Regions from separate parts of the Homo sapiens genome. Here region 2 is linked to region 1. The links are contacts of gene promoters, found by promoter capture Hi-C in human tissues and cell types (Jung and others, 2019). All regions are on one chromosome and are shown on one strand. The core of a region is centred on a gene start or on the middle of the fragment in contact, and the rest is flanking DNA. Distances in the headings are between cores, read along the strand shown. Region 1 holds the start of CXCL12 (C-X-C motif chemokine ligand 12). Region 2 has its middle 110 kb from the start of LINC02881.

Region 1 (6,542 bases), core at 2,251-4,750:
TTAAGATCTTTGCAAAATCACCAATTTACAAAATGCCATAATTGACACTCATTAGTGTAAATTAGCAAGGGGCTCCTGCAGAACCCACTGCTCACCCTTTAAATATAGGATTGCAAGCCCTGGAGGGCTGGGATTTGTGTGTGCTTTTTGTTTTTCTTTTTTCCTTGAAGATTTTATCCAAGCCCCACTTAATACCCCAAATTATTTGAACTTGTGGATCCTTTCATCAGAGATTAAATATATGTCTAAGAATATTTGGTCCAGAGATTTTTTTTCTTTTTTCTTTTTTTTTAAGTTTGCCTGTTTACAAAGTTCTGAGAGACCTCTGTGGTTCTGAAATTCTGCACCTTTGGGAAAGAATGCTGGGGAAGTAGGAGGAAATCTTGAGTAAGGGGCTCATTTTATTTTATTTTTTCTACAGACTGCAATCAATTGAGGGATGATGTGGACTAGGAATTGCATTGTGTATTCAGCCACCAAGTTGCAGGAAAAGTGGACCACTTGTCCCCCCACTTCCTTGTCCCCAGGACCAAATGCAACTCCCTGAAAACCAGGAAAAAGCCAAGCATCAGGGTGCTGGTGACTCATGGCACTGGAGAGACCTAAGGCAGCCTTCACAGTTACACCTGATCTAACTCCAGAAAGGCACCTCTGGGGCCAGCTTCCAGCAGCTGCACTGGGACCCTGCAGGGGAAGTCAGCACTGCACTGTAACCAGATCACCTGGGAAAGCCACCCCCAGGGCCGGGGCCTGCAGCCTGGGTAACTGAGGAGCTAAACGCTCCTGAGTGTTGTGCCTCCAGGTTTCCCTGGATTTCTTTTGGGCCCTTCCAAGCTGAGGCAGGGGGTGGGTTGGGGGTGGAGCAGGAGAATAGGAGGCCGGTAGTGAGGCACAAGCCCCCTCCCGGCAACAGTGAGCTTGAAGATATGCAGCCAAGGGCAAGTGCTGCAGCCGCCCCCGCTGGGATGGGTGGGGCTGTGACTCTCCAGCGCCCAGAGGAGAGAAGCTCCTCTGGCCCCCCAACCAAGCAGTGGTGATGAGGCCAGAAATCAGAGCCTATTCAGAGCTCAACACACAGGCTCTCTCTCCTCTCCCCCTCCACCCCCTGGGATTATCCATTTCCTTCAAAAGCAATTCTTGCTTCTACTCCCAGGACCTAAGGCCCGCCTGTCAAGCAGCGAATTTCAACAGGTCTTTTTAAAGTGACAGAGCCCCCAGGTGTGCTTACCAAAAGAACATGGTCTCGTGTGTACCTCATGTGCTCCTTCCTCCAGCTTTTTGTCAGTAAGACTAACTTTCCCAACCGTTCTGGATGTAAATCCGTGTACCGGCAAGAGTCCTGACTGGCTCTGATGGTACCCCGGATTTGGGACCGGGTGAGCTTGGCTCCAGGAGTTTTCAGAAAGCCCTCCAGTCTAATGCAGAGACAGGAGCCCAGCTGGCCCCTCCAAGCAGGCTTGGGAAGGGGGCCCACCCTGAGTTTAAGCCCGGGAAACCCAAGGGCCCAGCTGCCTGACGGAAGTCAGCCAATGGGGGAGGGGCAGGACCCCTGGCCAAGCTCTCTCTGTAGTGCAGCTTGAGGACTAAGTGTGGGGATAGGGGGCACATAGGCACTGTGAGGTGAGGGGAAAACAAAACAAAACAAAACATTCTGGCGATGTGTGTAAGGAGCAGATCTGCCTGGAGCCCAGGCTCCTGCCCTGGTTACTTGGCTGCCAATGGGGCAACTCTGAGGGCCATGTCACCCTTCCCAGGCCAGGAGGAGTCTGGGATGAACCCCACGTCTCTGTGCTTCCCCCAGGTCAGTTGCACCCATAACTCAAAGACCGAGGTTCCTCATTCCAATCCTCTCTCCAGCCCTCCGGGGAGGGGGCAGCACCATTTCCCAGAGCGGCGCACTGTGACACCTCCGCGCTCATCCCACCAATCAGTCAATAACTGCCCAAACCAGAGACCTTACAGGAACAGAAGAATATCCAGCAATAAAAACTAGAAACATGCCCCATGACTTGCGGGGGGGGGGGGGGGTCAGTGTGCAGACACAGCCTCAGGGACTTTTCATCAACGACGAACATTCCCAATTGCCTTCAGTCTGTGTCCTTAACACTTAGGCAGTCCGCCACGACCCCAGGCTGCCCAGCTTCTCCAGCCCGACTCAGCTGCGCTGGTCCTGCTCACACCAGCGCACAGTCCAAGCCAGCTAGGACGCCGGGGCCACGTCTGCACCAACCCAGCCAAGGGCTCGAGGCGCGCTGGGCCTGCACAGCCCGCGGCTGCAAGAGCACTCAGAGTGTCCTTCAACTCTTTGCAGGAAACTTCACAGCCAAGGAAGCTCAGCGGCCTGAGCCACAGGGTTTTGTTTTGTGTGTTCAGAGGCAACAGTTTATTTTGGTTTGCATCGGTGTCCTGTGACAGCGCAGCGAGTTTCTCTTCAGCGAAAGAAAAGAAAAAAGCCCTCTCCCAGTGAAACGGGACACCACGGTTCCCAGTGGCCCAGGGCCTTGGAGATTGAACTTTGCTGCAGCTCTCATTCTGGGGCAAAGCGCTTGGCCAGCTGGTGACAAAAGAGCCTGTCTGCAGGTGTGTTTGGGGAGCTGGGGAGGGGGCGTGTGAGGCTCGGAGGGTCCCTGGGCCTCTCTCAGGTGAACCCGAGAAGAGACAGGAAGACAGCGGCTGGACGCGCGCCCAGGTCCGCGTCGCTGCGGACCGCGGAGCTGTGCAGAAGCGCGGCCTGGCGGGTGGCACAAGCCCGACAGCTGCGCCGCGCAGCCCGCCCGCGCCTGGCCAAGAGCCCCGCGAGGGTGTGGGGAGAGGATCGGCTTCGCAGGGAGCGGAGGCTGCGCGGCTGCATCGGACCTCACAGCCTCAAGTCGCGGCATGAGGCGAACTTTGCAAAGCGCGCTCTCGCCATGCACCGCCCGACCTCCAGCACTGTGCGCAGCAGGACCTCGGAGCCCATTCGCCTGTGGAAACCGAGCCCGCAGCGGGAAGGCAGTGGGTGGAGGGTGGGCAGGCAGGGGTCTGGGGTCCGCGGCTCCCCACCCTCGCGCCTTCCCGCGCCAGTCCCGAACGCTCTCTTGGGGCGTTCCTGCCCAGTTGTCCCGGCTGACCTCGCTCTGCAGCCAGCTTGAGGTCAGGCGGTCGCTCTCTGCAGGTCACAAACCCTCGGCGCAAAAGTAGGGCTTTGAACGCGACACCGCACCAGAGCGCCCAGCTAAGCGAGCTGCCTCCACCCCCACTGTGTCGGGCGGCGCAAACTGCGGGCGCAGGCAGAGGAGCCGCGGCTCTGCGCCGGGCGGGAGCCGAAGCCCAGAGCCTCGCCAGGGCCTCCCCGCCGAGCGCACTTACCGTCGCTGAGGCAGAGCGCGGTCAGCACGAGGACCAGCACGACCACGACCTTGGCGTTCATGGCGCGGGCGGGCGGGCGGGCGGGCGGACGAGCGCGGGTCGGGGGCCGGACGCCGAGCGGGCAATGCGGCTGACGGAGAGTGAAAGTGCGGCGGTGGGAGGCGCGCGCCGGGCGCTTTAGAGGGGAGAGCCAGGCGGGGCGGGGCGGGGCGCGCGGTGAGGGGCGGGCCCGGAGCCGAGTGCTGGCCGTGGCCGGGGTCTCTGACGCGCGACTCCCTCGGCGGCACCCCCCACCCATCCCCTTCGCCCCTCCTCCGCTCCCTCTGTGCTCCCGAGGCGCAGTGCGCTCCGGCCTTTGACCTTCTCAGGCTCCGCTGGGCCCCGCACCGCTGGCCCGGTCTGCAGTGAGGTCCGCAGCCTGAGCGACGCCGGCTGGAGGGCCGCTTATTGTCCCTGTGACAGGGCCCCACTGGAGAGACTGAGGACCTTAGGCGTAAAGTGGGGCGCGCGTGGAAAGCTGCGGGACGGGGCCTTTCGATGGCGGGAACTGAATGAGAACCAATGAAAAGCAAACAAGTTAGTCCCGGGCGGAGGGCCTGCTGGCGGTGGCGGCCCAAGGCAGCCGAGGGGGTCCTGCTTTCTGTGCGTGGGGGCTCAAGCTCGCCACCTGCCCGGCTTGCGGCGCAGCCGCCGGCAGAGCTCGATCTGCGGGAATGAGACCCGTCTTTGCAGTCAGCGTGGCTCGGACTCCAAGCCCACGGCGCCACCAGCCGAGCCTCAGTTTCCTCGCCTGTACAAACAAAGCAGAAGGCGCCGGCGGCTCTCAGTAAAAGCGAATGTAGCCTTTGTACTTCCGACCTCTCAATGGTGAAATGAGCTAATCACAGGCCCACCCCGCGGAGTGGGACGGGAGATTCAATGAGACCCGCCCCACGCCGCGAAATTCTCTGCATCGTGTCTGACAAGCAGACAGTACTCAATAAATGGTAGCTGTAAGTAAGTCCTTTAAACCTAAGTACTTACTGCCTTACCCAAGAAAAGCTCCGTGCGACCCAAAGAGCTGAGAACTCCCCCACCCCGACCTCCGACTCCTAGGACAGTACTACTGGCGTCTGCCTTCTGGGTCCAGAAAACTCTTCCCACGGAGCCGTCCCTCGGCGGTGCTTAGCCCTCCGGATACCCCCGAGACATCCCAGATGGCCCCAGTCCGGTGGCGAAGGGAGGGTGCAGGTCGGCACCCAGGAGACGTGGGGGTGAGGAGAGCGCCCCTTTGGGCCTCGCTTTGTGACCGCAGGCTGCCCCAGCCACCTCTCTGTGTCCTTCCCAGCACAGCGTCCAGCGAAGTGGGGTCAGTCGCCGCGTCCATCCAGGGGCCTGCCCTGGGGACACGTCCCTGTCCCTGGGGAGTCCTGGCCGTCGGGGAGTGGGCGGTCAGCGGCTGCATTAGGCGGGAGCGGTCAACAGGAGGCTGCGAGGGCTCCGGAACTCCGCTGGTGGGAGTAGGTGTCTTCTGTGCATTTTTTTTCCAAAACCACTTTGGCCGTTAGATGGCTGTGGGCCGGCACTCCATCCATCCATCCATCCATCCATCCACCCACCCACCCACCCACCCACCCACCCTGGGCACTGGGCTTGGAGCCGGGAACCCCACTGACTTGGCCCTGCTCTTAAAGAACTGAAGGCAGTGAGGTCCAGTGAAGAAGGCAGCCGTCGGGCGTCCCCAGGCCTTTGCTGGGCTGGGCCGGGGAGCCTGGCCGCTCACCGGCCGCAGCGCTGGGGCTCCGGCGCCCTCTGGTGGCGGCGCCTCCCTCCCCGCTCCCAGAGCTCTGGCCAGCTCCATTCCTGCGCAGCTGATGAAACCCGGGAGGGCGAAGGGGTCCGCGGGAAATCTACACCCGGGTGGAGGGGCGCCCTGGAGCTCGGAGATCCGACCCTGCGGGAGCCGCGCGCAGCCTCGCTTGCCCTTAAATCTGGCCAAAGCAAACGCCATCGCCTCTCGCTTCTTCTTCTTCTTTTTTTCTTTGCCACAAAATCAGGTGGGCAGCTGGACCTAGGATCTGTCCCAGAAGCCTGAAAGGCCCGCGTGGGCTGAGTCGAGGGCGAACCAGGGATTCAGGCCTGGCCGCTGCCCCTCCCGCAGGCGCCCTGAGGCCCCAGAACAGAAGCTACTGTGGCACCCATGGGGCCATCCCTTCCGCTAGTCGTTCGTTAAATACTTACTGAGCACCCACTATGTGCTAGACCTGGGCTACATGTTTGAAGTAGTTTAGAAAAGGCACTAAACGTTTAGAAGCACATGGCGCTAAGCATAAGTAATTACGCATAAAATACTTAGAAGGCCATTAAATGCTAGGGGAAGATGGAGCAGAGGAAAGTGGGGTGGGAGTTAGGATTTTAAATAGGGTGGCCAAGGATCCATATTTTAGGTACAAGCCTCACAATTTTACAATTGGCGATTGAAATTTAAAACCCTGGCCGGGCACGGTGGCTCATGCCTGTAATCCCAGCACTTTGGAAGGCCGAGGCGGGCGGATCACGAGGTCAGGAGTTCGAGACCATCCTGGCTAACACGGTGAAACCCCGTCTCTACTAAAAATACAAAAAAATTAGCCGGCCGTGGTGGCGGGCGCCTGTAGTCCCAGCTACTCGGGAGGCTGAGGCAGGAAAATGGCGTGAACCCGGGAGGCGGAGCTTGCAGTGAGCCGAGATGGCGCCACTGCACTCCAGCCTGGGTGACAAAGCGAGACTCCGTCTCAAAAATAAATAAATAAACAAATATGTAAATAAATAAATAAATATGTAAATATGTAAATAAAATAAAATAAAACCCTGTACACTCTGGGGGCCTCCGCACCGCCTGCACAGGCAGGCGGCCATCAGACCAGGCCATTTTGACATGTCTCCAGCTCACTCGGCCACAGGGGTACCTCTCAAATTCGGGTCAGCGAAGTTCCCCACCCCTTTCCCTGTGTCCTTTGCTTATGCTTATGCTCAAAAGGCTCCACCTTTCTTTCTCTGCCTGGGGACTCTTACTCCCCATAGAGCCCCACCTTCTCCTGAAGTCTTCAGACTCTGTGCCGCTCTACCAGGTAATGCAGGGCACAGCGGCTCCTCAGGGATGCCTTGTTAAGCACAGTTCAAGGTGGGAGGCAGGGGTCTGGCTGCTGAGTTAAAGGCAGGGCATCTCCTGAGCT
Region 2 (6,542 bases), core at 2,454-4,953, 200 kb before region 1:
TTAATTTCTAAAACTATCAAAGGGGCATTCATTAAACTTCAACATATGTTCTCATAAAAACCGTATTAAATGATCAATGAGGATGACAAGAAATATCTAATAAAATTCATCTGTGGGCACCTGTGATGGTGAAATTATTGAAGCATTGCTTTTAAAATCAGATGCAAGGAAGGGTGCCTATTATGATTTACCATCTTTCTGGAAGTTCTAGTAATTACTCTAAGATATGGAGATAGAAATAAAGAATACAGCAATTGCTAAGTAAGGGAAAGTGAATTGCCTGAGAAAGAAAAAGCCTGATTTTTCTTGTATGAGTTGCCTTATTGTTTTCAATGGCTTGATCCCTTGAGCCATATTTGGTATTATATTCAAATATGGTGCCTCATGCTGGGATAGGAAGCTAATCCTAGCCCTTCCTCATCACTGGGAAAGTGGTCAAGGAAAAGCAAATGGTGTCAAATTCCTCTTTACCCATAGTCGTGGCATGAATTGTGTTTCTCCTTAATTCATATTTTGAGATCTCAATGCTCAGAACGTCAGAATGTCACTGTATTTGGAAATAGGGCCTTTACAGAGGTGACTAAGTTAAAATGTGATGGTTAGGGTGGGCCTCAATCTAATATGACTGGTGTCCTTATAAGAAGAAGAGATTAGGATACAAAGGGAAGACAATGTAAAGATATAGGGAAGGTATAGGGGGAAGACCATGGGAAGATACAGGGAAAAGATATAAGAAAAAGCCAAGGAGGGTAGCTTCAGAAGAAACAAAACCTGCCAGTGCCTTGGTCTCAGACTCCCAGCCTCCAGAACTGCAGGAGACATATGTTTTTGTTGTTTAAGCCGCCCAGTCTGGTACTTTGTCATGGCAGCCCCGGCTGAGTGGTGTACCCTATTTTCTCACGGTGTTCTTATGTTCTAGTTGGTGTCCAGTGGTCTTGGCGCTATCTGCATAGCTTCTGGTGGCAGTGCCGATGCTTTATGACCCAGTTTGGTGCACGGATATCCAGCGGCACTGAGCTAGTGAGACCTCACGAATCTCAGTGACCATGGACCAGTTTGCCGTGTCTGATGTAGAACTGCTGTTATAAACCTATTAAATGGTGTAGATGCTATCTGGCTGAGACCACAACAGGGATTCCAATGAGGTGGAAGAATCAGGCTTTTTCTTTCTAAACTCACACCAACATCTGTGCTTCAGAAGTCTCTCTCAGAGCATTCATCCCCGCTGACTCATACGCTGTGGCAGGCATCGGACACCTACAGTGCAGTGGGTTCTTTTCCAAAAGTCCATGTGACTTCGTCACGTGAAACAGTGTCTTGTCAAATGCCAGATGCTGCAACTCCCCTGATCCCATAAAGGGGGTTTTGTTCGCATCTCAAGCAGCCCGGCCCTTCTTGCATTTCTTGAAGAGCTCTGGGACAGTGCACCAGTGGTGCCAGAAGAAAGCACATCACAGGTCTGACTGTGGCACTGAGAACTCCTCCTAAAACGAGAGGCAATATTGTTCTAACAAGGAGCACATGGAGGATGCAGATGCCTTAGCCAAAAATCTGGGAAAGTTGAGAAAGAGGAAAATACCAATATTGCCAAATCCTTCTGAGCTACAAGTTAGAAAACATGTTTTATTCAGCATTGGTCTGCATTTTGGTAATTCGATAATAATAGCATTGCCCCACTGAAGAACTAAGAATTGCATAGAACTAAAACATAAGTGAATTCACAAGAGGATCCCACTCTTGAACACATTCAACAGAAGGAATGCCCTCATTTGCCTGGAGAGCTTAAGTGTCACTCTTACACTGCAGTAATGCAAAACAAACCCAATGACGAATTGCCACATTTTAGCTGGGTAGGAGAAAATGTGCTGTAGCAAGAAGCAGATTGAGAGTGATGTTCTTGTTCATACAGTGTCACATATAATTAGTTCATCATGAGGGCTCTGAGCCATGCACCAAATATACACAATGATGAGTTCTTTCACATCTCTTTTCTTTTTTTTGAGACAGAGTCTGGCTCTGTTGCCCAGGCTGGAATGCAGTGGTGCGATCTTGGCTCACGGCAACCTCTGCCTCCCAGGTTCAAGCGATTCTCCTGCCTCAGCCTCCCAAGTAGCTGGTACTACAGGCATGTGCCACCACACCCAGATAATATTTTTGTATTTTTAGTAGAGACAGGGTTTCACCTTGTTGGCCAGGCTGATCTCGAACACCTGACCTCCCGATCCACCTGCCTTGGCCTCTCAAAGTGCTGGGATTATAGGTATGAGCCACTCCACCAGGCCTCACATCTCTTTTCATTTGATTAGATTTGTATAGCCTCAAATCCTTATGAGTGTCCTTCCCTGTGAAATGTTCTTATGGGAGAAACTATTAGCTGCGTGCCGTTCCTGGAAAAATTCTGATGACGACAACAAGAAACAACAAAAGCTATGCAGCTTCTTTCTCTCCTGTCTTCTCTGTGCAGGAACATGGAGGCAGTCCCTGTAGATCAGAATGGTGAAAAGGAATGCACATAACTTCCTATAGTGCAAAGCCAAATCTTTGGATATTCAGCAATAACAACGGTGTTCACTGAAAGACAGTGGAGGAAGGGGTGTATCAGAGACCTAGGTTTGCATTTTCCAAACTCTACCCAGTATCTGCCTCTCTTTCACTCAATTCCCTGATGCTGAATTCTGAAAATTTCCCCTAGTAGCCATCTAACATTGGCTTAAAATGAATTTAACATATTCTTTAAAAAAAATATTCTTGGCCGGGCACAGTGACTCACGCCTGTAATCCCACCACTTTCTGAGGCCGAGGCGGGCGAATCACGAGGTCAGGAGATCGAGACCATCCTGGGTAATATGGTGAAACCCTGTCTCTATTAAAAATACAAAAAATTAGCCGGGAATGGTGGCGGGCACCTGTAGTCTCAGCTACTCGGGAGGGGAGGCTGAGGCAGGAGAATGGTGTGAACCCGGCAGGTGGAGATTGCAGTGAGCCAGAATTACACCACTGCACTCCAGCCTGGGCGACAGAGCGAGACTCTGTCTCAAAAATAAATAAATAAATAAATAAATAAATAAAAATTAAAAAATCTTTAAACATCTCTGAATATTCCAGATGTTTTTCTTTTTATATTTACTCTTTTTTTTCTATTACAAAAGGAAACCAAGTTCATTTTAAAAATGAGAAAATGCAGGGCACAGTGGCTCACGCCTGTAATCCCAGAACTTTGGGAGGCCAAGGTGAGCAGATCACCTGAGGTTGGGAGTTTGAGACCAGCCTGACCAACAGGGAGAAGCCCCGTCTCTCCTAAAAATACAGAATTAGCTGGGCGTGGTGGCACATGCCTGTAATCCCAGCTACTTGGGAGGCTGAGGCAGGAGAATCACTTGAACCCAGGAAGCAGAGTTGTGGTGAGCCAAGATCGTGCCATTGCACTCCAGCCTGGGCAATGAGAGTAAAACTCCATCTCAAAAAAATAAAATAAAATAAATAAATAAAAATAAAAATGAGAACAATACAGGAAAGCAAAAGAACAACCAAATCTCCCACACTCCCACCCACCTTAGGACAACCCTCAGCCTCACCTTGGAATATTATGTCCTTAGATGCCTTCCTTATACAAATTAAACTATACTATTTGTCTGAGAAATTGTCTCAGAAAATCTACTGATGAGCATTATTTATTCTACCTTTTCACTACTTAAATTTCAACAGAGCAACAGAACAGAATAGCAAGTAAAAATTTAAACACATTTATGACCATTAAAAAAGTTTCTGAGAAACTGGCAAAACTTCTTAGAGGTAGATCAAGGTTTGCAAAACTACTCCCCAGGATGCATCCAAAATGACCTAGTTATTAAATGTTTGGTTTTTGACCTAGACATCGTTTGGCCAAATTGTCTTGTTTTTCAACCTGAATGTAGGCCAGTCTACCTTTGGCCAATGTAATGCTGCCAAAATTGTGTGTGACAAGTCTAAGAGACTTTCTTCATTTTTTATCTCAGTATTCTTTCTCTAGAACTCAATATCCATCCCTGATCTCATATTGTATCTTCTCCCGTGGCCCTGTTTAAACACCCTCTGGTTCTCCATCTGGCTCTCTGCCTAAATTTCTGGCAGTTTCTTCAAAGTTCATCCTCCTGAAAAGTCCAAGATGTACTGGGGAGGAAACTGGATATATGTAAAGTGCATAGTACCTAGTAAATATCTGCCCAACAAAAGTGGTATCTACTCTTATTTTTGCAGCCTTTTATCCAATAACAAGTATAGCATGCATGGTTTAAGTCTCTTTTAGTCTTCATAAAAATTATGCATGAGTTAGTTTCCTTTCCCCCATGTAAGAGTTGAAAGCACCAAGATGCTGAGAATGTATGTGATTTGCATAAATGTGGAGGCAGATTTTAAACAGAGGTCTAACTATTAATTATTTTCTGCACAGAGCTAGATGCAATATGTGGACATGAGAACTGGCTTTGTTTGAAGTTGAAGGAAACTTTAAAACTTAAAAAACTGAGCACAAAACTAAAAACTTGCTGAGTTTTCAAATTCTGTTATGGCAAATTCTTTCACAAACCTTAAATTTGGGAATGTAAATAACATTCTTCCAGGCAATGCAGAGCTATTATTTAAAATTAAAAAAAACAGACTCCTTGAGCAACAGCTTTGTGAACTTGGTTGGCACTACAGCATGCGTTTTGCAGAGTCAACACAAAATTATTTATGGGAGGTCCTGTTGCTTAATGTGACTCATGTGTGTTTGATTGTGTTTCACAGAACATGGAGAAAGCGCTGCCATTAGGATGGGAGGTCAACATGGCTCTGCTGGATGCCAGTGGCTTTGGATCTGATCTGACAGAGCTGTAATCAATACTCAGCATTTCCTCCATGCAGTTACTCCGATCATTTACATATTGCCTTACTCCTCATGGCAAACCTACACATTCTTGTGATTTTACAGATGAAAAGACTGAGGCATGGAAGGGATGAAGAGCCTGTCCAGGACCAGCAGTTAATCACAGGAGAACTGGGAGCTGAGCCCAGGCTGCCTGGCTTGCAGCTGCCCTGGGCCTGCCTCTCTGTGCTGCAGGGCTGTCAGATCCAATGCCCTTGGCATCTGTAGAGAAAAGCAATCCACACAATTCTTATACATAAAATAAAAACCATTTTGGCTACTAAAAAATATACTGTATTCATTCCACGATCACGTGAATTCATTGGTCAGTCCCAACTATCCTCTTCCAATGTCACAGTAGGTGGGCAGGAGGATGGCGCAGTGGTCAGAGCTGTGTCACCTTGCTGGCCTGCACCCCTGTCACTGCACGTTCCCACCATGTACCTTATGTGTCTCCCTCCCCCCACCCAACATGGGAACCCACTCCCACATCCCAGAGCAGAGTCTTCACCATGTTTGAATCTGATCAGACAACACTGGGCAGTGTCCCTGTCGTTCAGGGAAAGAAATGGAAACCTACCCAGGAAGGTGGGAGGAACACATGGAGGAGACAGCAGTCTGGGTCTGGAATGCTGGTGGGATTTCTATGTGATAGGAGTGAGTGAGGAGATATCTATTTTAGGAAAGAGGAAATATCTCATGAGAACAAATGCAGACAGGCCAACCTGGGCACAGACAGGAGTGGTCAAGGGAGCCCAGGAAGGGCAGGGAAGGAGCAGGAGAACAGGGAGGCCTGGGAGTGGTGGTTTGCAGCCTGAGTGTCCTCTGCATCCTGTCTTCTCCAGGCCCATAGCCCACCTTCTATGAGCTTCCTTCCAGGTTCTGTTATGGAGAGACCCTCAACTGCCCAACTCCCTTCTAAAGGGTGATGAGTGGAGAGCACGTACTGGGTTCAACCTGCGGGCTTCAAGACCATGGGATAGTGCATGCGTGAGTGTGTGTACATGCGTGTGTGTGTCTGCATGCGTGTGTGTGTGTGTGTGTGCATGGGTGCGTGTGTGTGCATGCGTGCATGTGTGCATGTGTGTGTGTGTGCATGTTTTGAGTGTGTGCCTGTGTGCATGTGTGTGCATGTGTGGGTGTGGGCATGAGTGTGTGTGCACTCATGTGTGTTGTGTGTGTGTGTGTGTATGTGTCTATAAAGGGCTTTGTGCAGGAGAGTAGCATGGAACAGCTAGGCATTAGGATGGTAGTAAACCTGATGGGGGCCAAATGAATTGAGAAAAGAAGGAAGAAGGAAGGAAAGGAGGAAGGGAGGGAGAGAGGGAGGAAAGAAGAAAATGAAGGAGGGAGAAAGGAAGGAAAAAAGTAGGAATTAAGAAATAAAGAAAAGAAAAAGAAGTGAAAGGAGACAGGTGCACAGTGTCAAGGGACACGCACCTTGGCATGGCAGTGGAGATGGAACGAGAGGGACCAGAGGCTTCCCCGACCCCCCTGAGGGTGACTCGCACAGCAATGCATCAGTCCATCTGTCTCCCACGTTCCTCTCTATGCTTCTCAGGGGAAAGGGGACGTTTCCATTTTATAAAAGAAGAAATGACCTTACAGGACAAAGACAAAAATAAAAGTATTAAGATTGGTGCTGGATGGATAAGTTTGG

The links. Contacts are between HindIII fragments. The study calls those that stand out against the background at their distance.
Region 2: a fragment that was not itself captured here is called in contact with the fragment with the promoter of CXCL12 in region 1 in 1 of the 25 tissues and cell types used here (thymus).

What each region holds. Positions count from the first base shown.
Region 1 is chr10:44,381,597-44,388,138 of GRCh38, forward strand. CXCL12 (C-X-C motif chemokine ligand 12) reads right to left here and starts at 3,501. Exons shown (of 3, transcript NM_199168.4): 1 at 3,349-3,501. The coding sequence starts at 3,409. RefSeq lists enhancers at 1,057-1,750, 1,751-2,444, 2,445-3,136 and a silencer at 5,030-5,239. The HindIII fragment of the contact is 18,967 bases long and covers 1-6,542 here.
Region 2 is chr10:44,179,189-44,185,730 of GRCh38, forward strand. No RefSeq gene overlaps it. Among named protein-coding and RNA genes, the nearest start is that of LINC02881, 110 kb to the right of the region's middle. RefSeq lists an enhancer at 3,198-3,367. The HindIII fragment of the contact is 9,423 bases long and covers 1-6,542 here.